Linked DNA regions of Homo sapiens: region 2 is linked to region 1. Evidence: promoter capture Hi-C in 16 types of primary human blood cells and fetal thymus (Javierre and others, 2016). All regions are on one chromosome and are shown on one strand. Each heading gives the region's core, a stretch centred on a gene start or on the middle of the fragment in contact. The rest is flanking DNA. Distances are from core to core; before and after follow the strand shown.

Region 1 (5,567 bases), core at 2,501-5,000:
TGCAATAACACCAGGCTAAACAATGTGCACTGACTTCAAAAGTGTGGGGTCAGGTCTCCTTCAAGTGCCACAGGGAGAGTGCAAAGTAGGAAAAGTCTATCGGATGAGGAAACACTGTAGAGGGAAAGTGAATTTTTTTTCAATTTGGGTTAAAATTCAGATGTGGAATTCTACCCTCCTTTTCACTTTTGGATCCCCAGATAGGAGGAACTCAGCACATAGATAATCATGAACTACACACATTTTGGTTTTATATGCTCAGACTTGTCCAGAGCATGAAATCCCTGCCCTGTTGGAAGGCAGCGCCGTGCTCACGGAGGCACACAAGCACCTGTCTCAAAGTCACCCTGACCTGCAGATCTGCAAATGGCAAAAATAATTTCACATGTTTGTTCTGATTTGTCTTCATTTTTAGGCTACCTTGTGTGAGCTCCACTTTTTAGAATGTGATTTTGCAGTCCTGAAATGGATACCATGAGCAGATTGAGATGTGAGAATATGTTAGAATGATCACAGGTTCGGATGTTAGTGGGGCAGGAGAGGGAGTCTGAGATTGTATTGGCCTATACTGTGGCTTCTGGTTGAGCACTTGGTTTGCCTGGATGATGCTCTGGCCTTACTCAATCTTTATCATTCCATTATCCAGAGGACAGAGGATCTGAGCCCCATCTCTGTATTGCAGTCACCTCCTCTGGGACCTGTTTCCAAGCCTTCTTCTGTGTTGCCTGGCACCCCTTTCTTACCTCTTTCAAACCACTTACTGCTACCCTGTAAGCTCGATTGACTTGTTGGTCTTCCTATGAGACTGGAATCTCTCTGAGGGTCGGGACAGGCCTACCCTCTTCATTACAGTGAGCACCAGCCTCCAGCCCAGTCAATAGTTTTGTTAAATAAATAATTGAACAAAATTATTTGTTAAATAATGGTTTGTCCTTTCCAGAGGATGGACTTAGTTTGTCCTTTCCAGAGGATGGATTTAGTAAGTCTCCAACTCTGGTCATAATGGTGCCAGAAGGAAAGAGTTAAGCTATCTGGAGGAAATAGGCTCACTCAAAGACCCTTCTTCTTTTTTTTTTTTTTAATTGGCAAAGGCAGGATAAGTGTATTTGAGATAAATCCTGGATATAAAATCTTGACACATCTTTTAGGTATTGGCCGAGATGCTTTGGACCTGAAAGGGAAGTAAATCAAATCATTCTAGGTTTTCTTTTCTTTTCTTTTGGAGACAGAATCTTGCTCTGTTGCCCAGGCTGGAGTGCGGTGGCACGATCTCGGCTCACAGGAACCTCTGCCTCCCGGGTTCAAGCAATTCTCCTGCCTCAGCCTCCTGAGTAGCTGGGACTACAGGCGTGCGCCACCACACCCGGCTGTTTTGTATTTTTAGCAGGGACAGAGTTTCACCATGATGGCCAAGCTGGTCTCGAACTCCTGGCCTCAAGTGATCCACCCGCCTCGGGCTCCCAAAGTGCAGGAATTACAGGAGTGAGCCACCGCACCCAGTCAGGTTTCCTGTTAAGTGGCCTGAGATCTAGTTGTGAATGGCAGTCATGGCCAGACTCAGGAATTCAAAGCTTGACCTATTTTGTCTGAAGCTAATATTAATAATAAGAGAGATGTATTTGGCTTCATAACCCCTTTCCCTCCCGTCCCCCTCTTTCTTTCTGTAATCAAGGATAGAATTAGAAGTACCGAAGGCCGCAGAATTGCTTTAGGATTCAGAGCAGCTCCAAGGAATCTGTGTTTACGTATTATGTGTGTTTTTCCGTTTCCCTCCCTTTTTATGAGTGAGAAAAAAAAGCGCCTAAATTCCCACCAACATAAACCAATGACATACAATGATGAAATTCTGTTTTCACCTCTGCCTGTGACAGGGAATGCAAAAATAGCAAGTGGCCCAGTTCCACGAATCCCCGCCTCCTGCCCTCCCCGCTCCTGCCGGGTTGGATCTCTAAGAATGGAGGTTAGCGCACAGCCTCGCGCGGGCCGCTCAGCCCCCGGACCCGGCGGATGATGTCAGGCGACGGGAGCGGCCGCGGCCGGGCCGGGGAGGCCGCGGCCCAGGGGAGCTGGGAGGGAGGGTGGCCTCGCCAGGCCGACGGCGCGCCCGGCCGCGCGGCGTTGCCTGGAGACGGCCCTGGCGGCGCTGTGTTGCTGTAAACAGCCGCTTCCCTGTTACTATCTATAGCAGGATCTCCTGGCTCCCGGGCGCGGCGGCTGGAGGCAGGTCTGCGGTCCGGCTCCCCGCGCGCCCCGAACTATCCGCCCGCCGGCCTCATCCTGCCTCGCCCCTCTCCAGGTGCCCACCGCGGGCCCCGACCCCCGGGCCCGAAGAGTGGAGAAGGGAAGACCGGGGCTGTGCGGGGACATGCGTCTTCGCGCCCTGGAGGTGGCCAGCGCGCTGGGGCTGAGCCCCGGCAGCGTGACCCCGGCTGTCCTACGCAGCAGGGCAGGAGATTGGGGGGCGTGGCACACTCTGGAGCACCTTGCCTCCCCAAAGCCCCGTGTTCCAGGACGTGGAGCCGCTCCTGGGGTCCCAGCAGTCGAGGTATTCCGCCCAGGCGCAGCTGGACACTGTCCTTCCAGCCCCCGTCCTCCACCCTCCAAGTCCGCGCTGGAAAATCACCCGCTGCGGGCTCCCGTAAGCACAGCTTCCTGGCGGGACCGAACCAGCCCTCAGCGCAGATTTGAGTTCCCCGCAGGAAGCACACCCCGCCTTGTCATCCCGAACTGACCACCCTGCCCACATAACCACACCTCGCACTCCCTACCCCTGGGGCCCAGCTCAGAACCGGGCAGACACCCCCTTCAAATGTCTTCGCACGTAGGTTTTGCACAGTGTTTATCTGCTGGTGTCTCAGGGATTTGACAGTTTCCTTAATATTCCCACACATGGCCGAGAAAAATAAATAAATAAATGCGCTGTCTTCTTTAAAAAAATAAATAAATAAAGTACCCAGTATCGTAAAGTAGGTTATCGTATTCTCTTATTTTGGATCCTCCACTTTCTGCTTCCAAACGCAGGAACAGTGCTAGTATTGCTCGAGCCCGAGGGCTGGAGGTTAGGGGATGAAGGTCTGCTTCCACGCTTTGCACTGAATTAGGGCTAGAATTGGGGATGGGGGTAGGGGCGCATTCCTTCGGGAGCCGAGGCTTAAGTCCTCGGGGTCCTGTACTCGATGCCGTTTCTCCTATCTCTGAGCCTCAGAACTGTCTTCAGTTTCCGTACAAGGGTAAAAAGGCGCTCTCTGCCCCATCCCCCCCGACCTCGGGAACAAGGGTCCGCATTGAACCAGGTGCGAATGTTCTCTCTCATTCTGCGCCGTTCCCGCCTCCCCTCCCCCAGCCGCGGCCCCCGCCTCCCCCCGCACTGCACCCTCGGTGTTGGCTGCAGCCCGCGAGCAGTTCCCGTCAATCCCTCCCCCCTTACACAGGATGTCCATATTAGGACATCTGCGTCAGCAGGTTTCCACGGCCTTTCCCTGTAGCCCTGGGGGGAGCCATCCCCGAAACCCCTCATCTTGGGGGGCCCACGAGACCTCTGAGACAGGAACTGCGAAATGCTCACGAGATTAGGACACGCGCCAAGGCGGGGGCAGGGAGCTGCGAGCGCTGGGGACGCAGCCGGGCGGCCGCAGAAGCGCCCAGGCCCGCGCGCCACCCCTCTGGCGCCACCGTGGTTGAGCCCGTGACGTTTACACTCATTCATAAAACGCTTGTTATAAAAGCAGTGGCTGCGGCGCCTCGTACTCCAACCGCATCTGCAGCGAGCATCTGAGAAGCCAAGACTGAGCCGGCGGCCGCGGCGCAGCGAACGAGCAGTGACCGTGCTCCTACCCAGCTCTGCTCCACAGCGCCCACCTGTCTCCGCCCCTCGGCCCCTCGCCCGGCTTTGCCTAACCGCCACGATGATGTTCTCGGGCTTCAACGCAGACTACGAGGCGTCATCCTCCCGCTGCAGCAGCGCGTCCCCGGCCGGGGATAGCCTCTCTTACTACCACTCACCCGCAGACTCCTTCTCCAGCATGGGCTCGCCTGTCAACGCGCAGGTAAGGCTGGCTTCCCGTCGCCGCGGGGCCGGGGGCTTGGGGTCGCGGAGGAGGAGACACCGGGCGGGACGCTCCAGTAGATGAGTAGGGGGCTCCCTTGTGCCTGGAGGGAGGCTGCCGTGGCCGGAGCGGTGCCGGCTCGGGGGCTCGGGACTTGCTCTGAGCGCACGCACGCTTGCCATAGTAAGAATTGGTTCCCCCTTCGGGAGGCAGGTTCGTTCTGAGCAACCTCTGGTCTGCACTCCAGGACGGATCTCTGACATTAGCTGGAGCAGACGTGTCCCAAGCACAAACTCGCTAACTAGAGCCTGGCTTCTCCGGGGAGGTGGCAGAAAGCGGCAATCCCCCCTCCCCCGGCAGCCTGGAGCACGGAGGAGGGATGAGGGAGGAGGGTGCAGCGGGCGGGTGTGTAAGGCAGTTTCATTGATAAAAAGCGAGTTCATTCTGGAGACTCCGGAGCGGCGCCTGCGTCAGCGCAGACGTCAGGGATATTTATAACAAACCCCCTTTCAAGCAAGTGATGCTGAAGGGATAACGGGAACGCAGCGGCAGGATGGAAGAGACAGGCACTGCGCTGCGGAATGCCTGGGAGGAAAAGGGGGAGACCTTTCATCCAGGATGAGGGACATTTAAGATGAAATGTCCGTGGCAGGATCGTTTCTCTTCACTGCTGCATGCGGCACTGGGAACTCGCCCCACCTGTGTCCGGAACCTGCTCGCTCACGTCGGCTTTCCCCTTCTGTTTTGTTCTAGGACTTCTGCACGGACCTGGCCGTCTCCAGTGCCAACTTCATTCCCACGGTCACTGCCATCTCGACCAGTCCGGACCTGCAGTGGCTGGTGCAGCCCGCCCTCGTCTCCTCCGTGGCCCCATCGCAGACCAGAGCCCCTCACCCTTTCGGAGTCCCCGCCCCCTCCGCTGGGGCTTACTCCAGGGCTGGCGTTGTGAAGACCATGACAGGAGGCCGAGCGCAGAGCATTGGCAGGAGGGGCAAGGTGGAACAGGTGAGGAACTCTAGCGTACTCTTCCTGGGAATGTGGGGGCTGGGTGGGAAGCAGCCCCGGAGATGCAGGAGCCCAGTACAGAGGATGAAGCCACTGATGGGGCTGGCTGCACATCCGTAACTGGGAGCCCTGGCTCCAAGCCCATTCCATCCCAACTCAGACTCTGAGTCTCACCCTAAGAAGTACTCTCATAGTTTCTTCCCTAAGTTTCTTACCGCATGCTTTCAGACTGGGCTCTTCTTTGTTCTCTTGCTGAGGATCTTATTTTAAATGCAAGTCACACCTAGTCTGCAACTGCAGGTCAGAAATGGTTTCACAGTGGGGTGCCAGGAAGCAGGGAAGCTGCAGGAGCCAGTTCTACTGGGGTGGGTGAATGGAGGTGATGGCAGACACTTTTACTGAATGTCGGTCTTTTTTTGTGATTATTCTAGTTATCTCCAGAAGAAGAAGAGAAAAGGAGAATCCGAAGGGAAAGGAATAAGATGGCTGCAGCCAAATGCCGCAACCGGAGGAGGG
Region 2 (5,041 bases), core at 782-3,281, 110 kb after region 1:
GTGCTGCAATAAACATGGGAGTGCAGATACCTCTTTGATATACTGATTTACTTTCTTTTGGGTATATACCCAAAAGTATATTGGGGATTGCTGGATCACATGGTAGCTCTATTTTTAGTTTTTTGAGGAACCTTCATACTGTTCCCCATAGTGGCTATGCTAATTTACATTCTCACCAACAGCGTGTGAGGGTTCCCCTTTCTCCACATCCTTGTCAGCTTTCATTATTGTCTGTCTTTTGGATAGAAGCTGTTCTAACTGGGGTGAGATGATATCTCACTGTGGTTTTGATTTGCATTTCTTGATGATTAATGATGTTGAGCATTTTTTTATATACTTGGCCATTTGTATGTCTTATTTTGAGGAATGTCTATTCAGATCTTTTGCTTATTCTTAAATCACATTATTAGATTTCTTTCTTATTGAGTTGCTTGAGCTGTTTCTATATTTTCTCCGAAATACTGTAAATATTTTCTCCCATTCTGTGCATTGTCTCTTCACTTTGTTGACTGTTTCTTTTGCTGTGCAGAAGCTTTTTAATTTGATGTGATCCCATTTGTCCATTTTTGCTTTGGTTGCCTTTGTGGCAGGCTTTCAACAAAAAATTATAAGGCATGCTAAAGGTAATAAAAGTACAGTCTGAAAAGACAAAGTAAGCAGCAGAAACAGATTCAGATATGACACAGATTTTGGATTTATCATACAGGGGATTTAAAATAGCTAATATGTTAGGAACTCTACTGGAAAAAGCATACGACATGGTAGAGCAGATGGTAATGTAAGCAGAGAGCTGAAAACTCTAAGAAAGAATTAAAAGGAAAAGCTAGAAATCAGAAACACTGCAACAGAAATGAAGAATGCCTTTGATGGGCTCATTAGTAGAATGAATTGGCTAAGGGAAGAATCAGTGAGCTTAAAGATATGTCAATAGAAATTTCTCAAACTGAAATGTGAAGAGGAAAAAAAGAGAAACAAACAAAACAAAACAGAAACCCCAGAACTGTGGGATAACTTCAAGAGATATAACATACACATAATTGGAATGCCAGAAATTAAAGGAGATTACACAGCAAAAGAAATATTTGAAATAATAATGGTCAAGAACTGTCCAAATTAGTGACAGACACCAAACCTCAGATCCAGGGAGTTGAGAGAACATCAAGCAGGATAAATATCAAAAATATCTACACTTAGGAAAATTGTATTCAAATTTCAGAAAACCAAAGACAAAGAGAAAAATCCTAAAAGAACCTGGAGGGGAAAGCCCCTTTACCTATAGACAAACAAGGATAATACCTACAGAGAATCTTTTGTCAAAAACCATGCAAGCAAGAGGAGAGTGTAGTAAAATATTAAAATGTTGGAGAAAGAACCCCTACCAACCTAGAATTCTATATCCAGTGAAATTATCCTTCAAAAATAAAGAAGAAATAAAGACTTTTCAAACAAAAACAAGATATCATTGCCAGCAGATTTGCCCTGAAAGAAATTTTAAAAAAATAATCCAGGGAGAAGGTTAGTGATATAAGATCAGATCCACATAAAGAAGGAAAGAGCACTGGAGAAGAAATTAATGGAGGTAAAACAAAAGTTTATTTTTTTGCCGGGTGTGGTAGCTCACGCCTGTAATCCCAGCACTTTGGGAGGCTGAGGTGGGTGGATCACAAGGTCAGGAGTTCGAGACCAGCCTGACCAACGTGGTGAAACCCCATCTCTACTAAAAATACAAAAATTAGCCGGGTGTGGTGGCATGCACCTGTAATCCCAGCTACTCAGGAGGCTGAGGCAGGAGAATCGCTTGAACCCAGGAGGCAGAGGTTGCAGTGAGCTGAGATTGTGCCACTGTACTCCAGCCTGGGCGACAGAGTGAGATTCCATCTCAAAAAAAAAATTATTTTTATTCTTAATTGATCTAAAAGATAACTGTTTAAAGCAAAATAATAAGTTATTGGGTAAATTATAGAATATGAATAAGTGAAATGAATGACAGCAATGTTATAAGGGAGAAGAGGAGGAATTGGAAATTCTGTTATAAGGTACCTACAATACATGTGAATTAGTATAGTTTTATTTGAAGTGACTTAAATTAGTTGTAATTGTATATTGCAAATTCTAGGCTAACTACTAAAAGAAATTTTAAAGGAAATATAATTGATATGCTAACAGATAAAATGAAATCATATAAAATGCTCAATTAAATAATGCTCAGAGAAGGCAAGAAAAACAGGGAAGAAGAAAAAGAAGCAAAGAATAAGTACAATGAATAGAAAACAGTTACAAACATGATAGATTTAACCCAACTATATCAATAATCACTTTAAATGTGACTGGTCTAAGTATACAAATTAAAAGACAGAGATTATCAGAGTGGCTAAATAACACAACAAGACACAGCTATATTTTGCTTATAAGAAACCCATCTTAAATATCATGATTCAGATAAGTTAAAAGTAAATGAGTGGAGAAAGACACACCATGGTAACACTAAGAAAACAAAGCTGGAGTAGTTCCATTAACTTCAGACAAAGCTGACTTTGGAAAATGAAAATTCTCAGGACTAAACAGAGGAATCACACATTGATAAACGGGCCAATTGTCCAAAAGGACATAACAATCCATAATGTGTATGCACCTAACAACAGAGCATCAAAATGTGTGATGCAAAAATTTACAGAACTGGATGGGCGCAATGGTTCACGCTTGTAATCCCAGCACTTTGGGAGGCTGACAGGGATGGATCACCTGAGGTCAGGAGTTGGAGACTAGCCTGGCCAACATGGTGAAACCCCATCTCTACTAAAAATACACAAATTAGCGGGGGTTGTGGTGGGTGCCTGTAATCCCAGCTACTCAGGAGGCTGAGGCAGGAGAATCGCTTGAACCCAGGTGGTGGAGGTGGAAGTGAACTGAGAGCATGCCACTGCACTCCAGCCTGGGCAACAAATAAAACTCCATCTTAAAAAAAAAAATTGACAGAGCTGATGGGAGAGTTAGGCAAGTGCACTACTATAATTGGAGACTTCAACACCTCTCTTTCAGTCATTGATAAATCAAGCAGGGAGAAAATCAGTAAGGATATAGTTGACCTGATCAGAATTACCAATCAACTTGATTTCATTGACATTTATAGAATATTCAAAGCAGCAAGAGCAGAGTATACATTCTTCCCAAACTCACATGGAACATTCACCAAGACAGACCACATTCTGAGCCATAAAACACACCTTAACACACTTAAGAGAATAGAAATCATACAACGTATGTTCTCAGACCACAATGGAATTAAACTAAAAATCAGTAACAGAAAGGTGGCTGGAAAATCCAAAAATATTTAGAGATTTAACAACATACATTTAAAGAACACAAGGGCCAAAAAAGTCTCAAGAGAAATTTTAAAATATTTGAATTAAATGAAAATGAAAATACAACTTATCAATGTATGTGGGATGCAGTGAAAGTAGAAATTTGAGGGCAATCTATAGCATTGAATGCATATATTAGAAAAGAAGAAATATCTAAAATCAACAATCTAAGCTTTCACCTTGGAAACTGGAATAAGAACACTAATTTAAGTTCGAAGCAAGCAGCAGAAAATAATAATAAAAATTATAGAAGAAACCAATAAATTTGAAAACAGGAGAACAGTAGAGAAAATCAACAAAACCAAAAACTAGTACCTTGAAAAGATCAATGAAATTGATAAACCTCTACACATGCTAATCAAGAAAAAAAGAGAGAAGACACAAATTATCAATATCAGAGATGAAGGAGAGGCTATCACTACTGATCACAGGGACACTAAAAGGATAATAAAAGAATACTATGAACAACTTTATACCCACAAATTTGATAACTATGATGAATGGATCAGTTCCTCAAAAGGCACAAACTACTAAAACTCACACAAGGAGAAAGAGATAGTTTGAATAGTTCTACATCTATCAAAGAAATTGAATCAATAATTCATAGTATTCCACGAAAGAAAGCACGAGGCCCAGATGATTTCACTGGTGAGTTTTACCAGACATTTAAGGAACATTTCTTTCAGAAAATAGAAGCACAAAGAACATTTCCTAACTCATTCTGTGAGGCCAGCATTACTCTAAAACCAAAATCAGAAAACACATTACAAGAAAGGAAAAGTAAAGACTATTATTTTTCATGTACATAAATTCAAGAATCCTCAACAAAATATTAACAAATCAAATCAAATAATGTATACAAATAATTATAGAGCATGACCAAGTGGGATTTATTCCAGGAATGCAAGACTGTTTCAACATTTAAAAATCAATCAATGTAATTCACATCAACAAGATAAAGAAGAAAATCATATAATTACATCAATTGATTCAAAAAAAGCGTTTGATAAAATCCATCACCATTCATTATAAAAACTCTCAACAACTTAGGAATAGCGGATTCTTCCTCAACTTAATAAAGAACATCTACAAAAGGCCTACAACTAGCATCATACTTAACAGTGAGAAACTGGATGCTTTCTTCCTATGACTGGAACAAGGCAAGTATGTCCCCTATCACCCCTCTTATTGAGCACTGTACAGGGAATCCTAGCTAGTATTATAATTAAAAAACAAAAGAAAATGAGATAAAATATATGCAGGTTGGGAAGGAAGAACTAAAACTGTCTTTGTTCATAGTTGACTTGATTGTGTAGAAAAAATGCAAAGAATTGACAAAAACAATAGCAAAAGCAAAACAAAAGAAAACAAAACCAAAAAATAAACCCATGAGAAACTTGGAATTATTTAGCAATTATAGCAAGGTTGCAGTCTACAAGGTCAATATATTACTTGTAGTGGTAAAAACTGCAATTACTTTTGCACCAACCTAATACAAATGCCAACTGTTTTTCTGTATACCAGCAATGAACAGTTGAAAATTTAAAAATATATCATTTACAATAGCATAGAAAAAATGAAACACTTGGGTATAAGTCTAATAAAATATGTACAGAATCAATATGTGGAAACTGTGAAACAAATAAATCAAAGAAGATCTAAAAAAATGGAGAGCTATT

Evidence for each region. Contacts are between HindIII fragments. The CHiCAGO score rates a contact against its expected background, and 5 or more counts as called.
Region 2: a contact is called between a fragment that was not itself captured here and the fragment with the promoter of FOS in region 1, in 1 of 17 cell types (monocytes). The highest score is 5.5, in monocytes.

Annotation. Positions count from the first base shown.
Region 1 is chr14:75,275,078-75,280,644 of GRCh38, forward strand. FOS (Fos proto-oncogene, AP-1 transcription factor subunit) reads left to right here and starts at 3,751. Exons shown (of 4, transcript NM_005252.4): 1 at 3,751-4,046; 2 at 4,800-5,051; 3 at 5,483-5,567. The coding sequence starts at 3,906. RefSeq lists silencers at 1,915-2,424, 3,153-3,242, 3,593-3,652 and enhancers at 3,741-4,668, 4,023-4,082, 4,669-5,567. The HindIII fragment of the contact is 6,704 bases long and covers 1,570-5,567 here.
Region 2 is chr14:75,383,708-75,388,748 of GRCh38, forward strand. No RefSeq gene overlaps it. Among named protein-coding and RNA genes, the nearest start is that of JDP2-AS1, 41 kb to the right of the region's middle. The HindIII fragment of the contact is 3,002 bases long and covers 531-3,532 here.